Linked DNA regions of Homo sapiens: region 1 is linked to region 2. Evidence: promoter capture Hi-C in human tissues and cell types (Jung and others, 2019). All regions are on one chromosome and are shown on one strand. Each heading gives the region's core, a stretch centred on a gene start or on the middle of the fragment in contact. The rest is flanking DNA. Distances are from core to core; before and after follow the strand shown.

Region 1 (4,322 bases), core at 963-3,462, 1.7 Mb after region 2:
TTTCTGATCATTTTTCTTCATGCATTTCAGGAAGCTATCTCAGCTCTTAGAGTGCTTAATGTGCCCAGCACACACATTGATTCTCTTAGCAAGAGTCTTGCCCTTAACTTGTTGTTTACAACAGTGCCAACAGCATGCTGGGGGCATTGTAGACTCCTCTACTTTTGCCATGGTAACACTTGTAAAGCATTCCTTTTTGAACAGTACTCATTCCCTTAATGTCTACAATATCACCTTTCTTATAGATTTGCATATATGTGGCCAAAGGAACAACTCTATGTTTTCTAAAAGGCCTACAGAACATATATTGAGTGCCTCTCCTCTTTCCCTTTGTGTTCATCCCATTTTGGTGAATTACTGGAAGATGGTGGTTCCAGCTGAAAGGAACCCTACTACAATATTTTTAATGCTGCATAATATTCCTACATATGGCTGTTTCTGTTTTGCCCTAACTTATTGAAGCACTATTTAATTATTGAATATTTAGTTGTTTCCTGTGCTTTACTATCATGACAGCACTGTAATGATAGTATTGTACCTACATTTTTGCATATAGCTAGCATTATTTTCTTAGGATAAATTCCTAGAAGTGGCACCATTGGGTTAGAATGGGTTTAGAACATATTAAGGCTTGTGATTCCCCTTGGTAGACTGCCTCTCATGAAGGTTATTTCAATATTTATTTTGGGTGGGAACACGGAAGTGTTCATTTCCTACATTATATCAACTCAGATTATTATGAGTTTTTGTTGCAGCAGCAACAAAAAAGACTTTATGCCAATCTGTTGGTTGAAAAATTGTATCTTATTTAAAATTTTCATTTTTAAATAAATAGAGCAATATGTTTATTGGCCATTTATGTTTCTTAAATATGTTTTTAACTTTATTGTGACAATTTTCAGACATACAGAAAATAGAATAGTAAACACCCACATAACCACCATCTGATTTAAAGTAATACTTGTCATGTTAGTTTATACATTTTTTTCTGATTTATGTTAATAAATATAACTTAGCTATCACTATAATTCACCCTAAATAATTTAGCATAGAGCTTCAAATAATAAAAACAATCTCCTACACAGTCATAATACCATTGTGCACCTAATAAAGTTAATGATAATTCCCTAATATAAAATACCCAATCCAGATGCAAATCCTTAAATTATATTTTGTTCCATCCCTATAACAGGGAATCAAAGTAAAGGATGGGCAGATGCAGTGACCTGTTGTGTGCACCTTCTCAGTGGTTGGAAAACAATGTAGGGGATTTGTCCTTCAGTCCCAGGATATGAGTGATTCATGACAAAATGGGTAGCTGGATGATTATGGTTCTACCCTGGCTCATTCACAGCTTACAAACCTTTATCAATTTACTGTGACTGATGGTGAGCAGGCCAGATAGGACCCCTGCCCTCGGGGTATGGGCATTTGTAGTGATAGGTTCCTTCTGGTTTCCTTTGCTGTCATCTTCACTGAGTATGGTGGTATTTCTTGGTGATGACAATAAGTATTATACAAGGTTGCATGAGGAATCCTAAAACTCTTCCCATTTTGCAGGTGTATGTTTAATCATAATAAAACTCCTGAAAATTGCAAGGGAGGAAGGCTTCAGCTCACTAGTGAAAAATATTCCCAAAGAAGGATTAATGACATTTTAAAGATGTGGTGGATATAAGGATATAGTCCGTTCCCCCTATAGGGACCCTCTGCTCACTGCTGCAGGGAGAGCAGAGCTGCATTTATCACTACCCTCATACATATTTTTATTATGGTCTGCCTCTGTCCATCAATCCTAAGGAGCAACCTTTGACATGTTTACTTAAATCACAGAGCAGACTGCCCAGCCGTGGTGATGAGCTTGTTTTAAAAACTGGAGAAAACTATTTCTGTGCCCAGATTAACATGCTCTTATATTTAAGAAATGATTTCTTTATTGCATCTAAAAAAATGAAGCTGATAATATCTCTCAAAGACTTCTAAAATGTAAACTGTTGAAATATAAATTGAATGCATACATCACAAATGTACAGCCATGAATACTCAGAAAGTGAGTAGGCCCATGTAACGAGCATCCCAGAGGCCCTCTGATGCCCCTTCTGATCAGCACCCACCAAGGGTAACCAGTTGTCTGAATTCTGGTCACTGTATGTTAAAACTAACTGTATGTAAGTTTTGCCTGTTTATTTCACTTTGCGTGAATGGAATTATACGCTAGGTTTTCTTATGTTTCTTTTCTTTTACCCTTAGGATTCGTCTGTTGTCATATGTAGTTGGAGTTAGTTTATTCTTTTTTTTTTTTTTTTTTGAGATGGAGTTTTGCACTTGTTGCCCAGGCTGGAGTGCAATGGGGCGGTCTCAGCTCACTGCAACTTCTGCCTCCCGGGTTCAAGCGATTCTCCTGCCTCAGCCTCTTGAGTAGCTGGGATTACAGGCCTGTGCCACCATGCCTGGGTAATTTTTGTATTTTTAGTACAGACGGGGTTTCACCATGTTGGCCAGGCTGGTCTCAAGCGCCTGACCTTAGGTGATCCACCTGCCTTGGCTTCCCAAAGTGCTGGGATTACAGATGTGAGATGCCGTGCCCAGCTGGAGTTAGTTTTTTCTCATTGCTGTGTTGTATTCCATTGTGTGAATTCACCACAAGCCATTAATGTATCCTACTATTGGTTGACATTTGTGTTATTTTTAGTTTTTTGGATACTACAAATAATGCCGCTGTGGGCATTTTCACATAGTTTTTGTGTATATGCACACTTCTGTTGGTGATATACTTCTGATTGAAATTGGTGGGCTTGTGGTTGTATGTTCAGCTATAGCAGATACTGCCCAGCATTTTTCTAAAATGGTTTACTCCTTTATTCTCATACCATCAGTGTGTGAGAGTAACATTTGCTCCACATTTTTGCCATCACTTATTATTCTTTTTCGTTATCTTGGGGGTATGGCATGGTATTGCATTGTAGGCTTTTTGTTTTATGTTTTGAGACAGGGTCTCACTTTGTTGCCCAGGCTGGAGTATAGTGATGCAAACATGGCTCACTGCAGCCTCAATCTTTTGTGCTCAAGCGATTCTCCTGCCTCAGTCTCCCAAGTAGCTGGGACTACAGGTGCACGTTACCCTACCTGGTTAATTTTTTATTTTTTGTAGAGATGGAGTTCCGCCATCTTGCCCAGGCTGGTCTTGAACTCCTGGGCTCAAGCGATCTGCCCACCTTGGCTTCCCAAAGTGCTGGGATGACAGGCATGAGTCAGTGTGCCCTGCCTTGCATTGTTTTATTTTGCATTTCAGTGGAATTTTTTTAGGGAGCAGCAACTTGATAATGATTCTAAAGGTCATTTGTGGAAAATCAAGGAGTGATCATGGCCAAAAAAATTTCCAAGTGTAAAATAATTCAATGTCTTTTTTAAACCTTTCATTCTTTTAAAAAAATATTTATTTGAACATGTTTCACTATCTACCAGGTACTAGTCTGGGAATTTGAGGACACAGCAGTAAAAATGAGAGAAAAAAAATTCTGTCCTAACAGAACTTTCCCTCTAGTTATAGCATGTAATCTTGCAAGAGTAGACGAGACAATTGAAAAGGATGGTCCTGAAACATCTCTGACTGCAGTGATGACAAGAGCTGTCATTCGATCCCAGCATTCTCCCATGGAGCGTAGGTCAGCCTCAGAATACATGTTGGCCCTAGGAAGCCTTTGCCAGTTCATCAGAACTGGTACTGCAGATGGAGCCATTTTGTCACGCCTTTCCCTGGTGACCATATGATAATTAAGTATGTGATAAACATGGCATCCTAAAGACCTGGAAGAGAGAATGATTTGCTTTGTGTTCGTGGGACAACCAAGAGATTAAGTGGAAAAATTAAAGTTGGGGGATTCTTACCTTAGATCACACACAAAGATAAAGTACTAATGTACTAAAACTTAAAGGTAAAAGATAAACCTACTTTAAAAAAACTCAGATAAACTCTCTGATATTTAGTCTTGAAATGAAGAAAGACTGGTGATATGGCTTGGCTGTGTCCCCACCCAAATTTCACCTTAAATTGTAATAATCCCCACATTTAAAGGGTGGAGCCAGGTGGAGATCATTGAGTCATGGGGGTGGTTTCCCTCATACTGTTCTCGTAGTAGTGAATAAGTCTCATGAGATCTGATGGTTTTATAAATGGGAGTTCCCCTGCACAAGCTCTCTTGCCTACCGCCATGTTAAGATGTGACTTTGCTCCTCATTCGCCTTCCACCATGATTGTGAGGCCTCCCAGCCATGTGGAACTGTGAGTCCATTAAACCTCTTTTTATTTATAAATTACCCAG
Region 2 (4,187 bases), core at 1,688-4,187:
CAGCTTTTAAAAAGGAGATCCTAGGCCAGGTGCGGCGGCTCGCACCTGTAATCCCAGCACTTTGGGAGGCCAAGGCAGGTGGATCACTTGAGGTCAGGAGTTTGAGACCAGCCTGGCCAACATGGTGAAACCCCCATCTCTACTAAAAATACAAAAATTAGCCGGGTGTGGTAGCATGTGCCTGTAATCCTAGCTACTCGGGAGGCTAAGGCAGGAGAATTTCTTGAACCCGGGAGGCGGAGGTTGTAGTGAGCTGAGATCATGCCTCTGCACTCCAGCCTGGGTGACAGAGCAAGACTCCGTCTCAAAAAAAAAAAAAAAAAAAAAAGGAGATCCTGACACATGCCACAACACAGATGAACCTTGAGGACATTATACTCAGTGAAATAAGCCAGTCTGAAAAATACAAATACTATATGATTCCACTTATATGATGTCCCTAGATAAAGCAGTCAAACTCTTTTTTTTTTTTGAGGTGGAGTCTCGTTCTGTCACCCAGGTTATAGTGTAGTGGCGCAATCTCAGCTCACTGCAACCTCTGCCTCCCAGATTCAAGTGATTCTCCTGCCACAGCCTCCCAAGTAGCTGGGATTACAGGCTACCATGCCCAGCTAATTTTTGCATTTTTAGTAGAGATGGGGTTTCACCATGTTGGTCAGGCTGGTCTCGAACTCCTGACCTTGTGATTTGCCTGCCTCGGCCTCCCAAAGTGCTGGGATTACAGGCATGAGCCACTGTGCCCGGCCAGTAGTCAAACTCTTAGAAGCAGAAAGTACAATGATGCTTACCAGGAGCTGGGAGGTGGGGGAACAGGGGAGTTGTGGCAGCTCAATGGATACAGAGTTTCTGTTTTTCCAGCTGAATAAATTACAGAGATCTCTCATTCAATAATGCACCAAGAGTTAACAATATTGTACTATACATACACTTAAAAATGGTTGAGATTATATATTTTATGGAATGTGGTTTTTACCCAATAATTAAAAAGAAGAGTCTAGCACAGTGCTGGCCATATAAAGCCTCAATAAATGTTTGCTGAAAATTAAAAAAAAAAAAAAGGCCAGGAGTGGTGGTTCACACATGTAATCCCAGCACTTTGGGAGGCTGAGGTGGGAGAATTACTCGAGCCCAGGAGTTCAAGACCAGCCTAGGCAACATGGCAAAACCCTGTCTCTCCAAAAAATATGTATATTAAAAAAATTAGCCAGGCATGGTGGTGTGTGCCTGTAGTACCAGCTACTCGGGAGACTGAGGTGGGAGGATCGCTTGAGCCTGGAGGTCAAGGCTGCAATGAGCTGAGATTGTACCACTGCACTCCAGTCGGGGCAACAGAGCAAGACCCTGTCACAACAGAAACAAAATCTTGAGGTGTCTAGTCCTGGCCTCAGCCTCAGAGTATTTGTTTCTGAACTTGTTAGTTTTGGGGGTTGGGGATGCTGGTTTGATTTCCTCCTTTTTGCCTTTTGAGTGTGTGCAATTTATGGTATAGCTGGGAAACGTAAAAGTCAAGAGTTTTGTAGGAAAATCACGTCACTTAGCCCTGTCTCCTGTGCCGGACGAGTCCTGTGTGTGCACTTGGTGACAATGGCTTTGAGTCTTCAACTCCAGATTGAGGTCAGCCTTACACATCCATAGTTCCCAAAGCTGAAAACAGGCCTGCCTCCAACGGTACCTGCTAACATCTGGGGAGCTTTTCAGCTTACAGAGCACCCTGTATGTGTTTGTCTTAGTTCAGGCCACCATCTCCAGCTTACCAGGCTCTAGAACCTTCTCCACACTTTGCCAACAGGGTTCGTTTGCAGAATTGAAACCTTAGTTAAGGTTTGTTGAGGTTGTTGTTGTTGTTGTTGTTTTTACAATTGGCTATTCCCACCCACATTCCCTTGAGACATAAATAGAAAAAAAAAAGAGGTTTCCTGAGTAGGACAAGACATTTGAGCTGCATCCACTTGATCCTTGAAAAGGAAATCTAAGAGGTTGTAACTATCACTTTTTCTAGCCTATATAAGGTAGGTCAGTAAGGTAGCAAAAGCACATCTGTTGTTTTGCTCCTTCAACTCTTTTTCCTGATTCTTCCTGGGGGAAAACCTAAAACGGTGAGTAACTGGTGGACCCATCAGACCCCAGACTCTTCTTCACTGCATGCATTCATATTAGGCTCAGGTGCTTAGACTCCTGTTTTCCCATGGCTCTGACATCTGGAAGGATTTTAATCTCTGGGAGATGGGCTTTTCATCCATCTGCTTCCCACCTTTCAGGACAGGTAGCATGTCTTCTTCCACAGAATGTCTGCAAGCAGCCCAAACTGTATCCTTTCCCACGTGGAATTTGCAACAGTGCATCTCTCGGACTGCTGTAGGAAAATGCCAGTGCATTTGTAACATGGTTTACGGCTGCCTATGCAAATGACTGATTATGTCAGTATAATTTTTATAAGAAAACAATTGAATCCTTCTTTGGGTCATGTTTTTTTTTTTCATTTTTGGCATATATTCAAAAGAAGGCTCTGAGACAAAAAGGGCTGGGGTCTTTTTGGTATCTGGTTTTAATTTGGATATTCTGTCCCGTCACTTAATACAAAACCATGCTTATCACATTTTAAAAATTCTAGACAGGCCTGGCTTGGTGGCTTATGCCTGTAATCCCAGCAGTTTGTGAGGCCAAGGCAGGCAGATCACATGAGGTCAGGAGCTCGAGACCAGGCTGGCAAACATGGCAAAACCCCATCTCTACTAAAAACACAAAAATCAGCCAGGCCTGGTAGTGCGCACCTGTAATCCCAGCTACTCGGAAGGCTGAGGCAGGAGAATCACTTGAGCCCAGGAGGTGGAGGTTGCAGTGAGCCAAGATTGTGCCACTGCACTCCAGCCTGGGTGACAGAGTGAGACTCCATCTCAAAAAAAAAAAAAAAAAAAATCTAGACACACATACAGTTTCAGTGGGCCTGGGAAGATGTGTTTCCCCTGGATGTGCACGTTCCTGTTTGTGGCTTATCGCCTCTCGTTTATTCTGTGTGAGTAGGTAGAAAATGAGCATCACGGACGTGCTCAGTGCTGATGACATTGCAGCAGCGCTCCAGGAATGCCAAGGTAGAGGGGACGTGGGGCGGGGGTGGGATTTCCTCACAGCTTTGCCCCTCCAGCGAGGCAACACAAAATCAAAATGTAGGCCAGGCGGCCAGACGCAGTGGCTCACGCCTGTAATCCTAGCACTTTGGGAGGCTGAGGTGGGTGGATCACGAGGTCAGGAGTTTGAGACCAGCCTGGCCAAGATGGTGAAACCCCATCTCTAATAAAAATACAAAAAAATTAGCCAGGCGTGGTGGTGGGCACCTGTAATCCCAGCTACTCGGGAGGCTGAGGCTGAGAATTGCTTGAACCCGGCCTTTTTTGTAGACTCTGTCTACAAAAAAAAAAAAAATGTAGACCAGGCATGGTGGCTCACATCCGTAATCCCAACACTTTTCGGAGGCCAAGGTGAGAGGACTGTTTGAGCCCAGGAGTTTGAGACCAGCCTGGGCAACATAACAAGACTCCATCTCTACAACATAACAATAAAAATAAAAACTAGCGGGGCATGGTGGCATGTGCCTGTGGTCCCAGCTACTCTGGAAACTAAGGTAGGAGGATCACTCAAGCCCAGGAGGTTGAGGCTGTGGTGAGCTATGATCGCTACACTGCACTCCAGCCTGGACGACAGAGTGAGACTCTGTCTCTAAATAAATAAATAAATAAATAAATAAATAAGTAAATAAGAGCTTGGCTGGAAAATTCATGGAATCAGAGAAGAAAACTACTATTTATTAGATAACTAAAATTATAGAGATCTGGGATCTGAGCACACGATTACACTTCTGTAAGACAAAAGAAACCTACTAAACATGAAAGCAAGAAATCACTGAAGGGCCAGGTGTGGTGCTCACACCTGTAATCCCAGCACTTTGGGAGGCCAAGGCCGGTGCATCACTTGAGGTCAGGAGTTCAAGACCAACCTGGCCAGCCTGACAAAACCCTGTCTCTATTAAAAATACAAAAATGAGCTGGGCATGGGGGTGCATGCCTGTAATCCCAGCTACTCGGGAGGCTGAGGCAGGAGAATCAGTTGAACCTGGGAGGCAGAGGTTGCAGTGAGCCGAGATCACGCCACTGCACTCCAGCCTGGCGACAGAGTGAGACTCTGTCTCAAAA

What was found. Contacts are between HindIII fragments. The study calls those that stand out against the background at their distance.
Region 1: a contact is called between a fragment that was not itself captured here and the fragment with the promoter of OCM2 in region 2, in 1 of the 25 tissues and cell types used here (heart right ventricle).

The regions. Positions count from the first base shown.
Region 1 is chr7:96,279,378-96,283,699 of GRCh38, reverse strand. All of the region lies in intron 2 of SLC25A13 (solute carrier family 25 member 13), which reads left to right. It also overlaps the pseudogene RPL21P74. Among named protein-coding and RNA genes, the nearest start is that of SLC25A13, 41 kb to the left of the region's middle. The HindIII fragment of the contact is 5,403 bases long and covers 1-4,322 here.
Region 2 is chr7:97,988,946-97,993,132 of GRCh38, reverse strand. OCM2 (oncomodulin 2) reads left to right here and starts at 2,937. Exons shown (of 4, transcript NM_006188.4): 1 at 2,937-3,089. The coding sequence starts at 3,029. The HindIII fragment of the contact is 22,202 bases long and covers 1-4,187 here.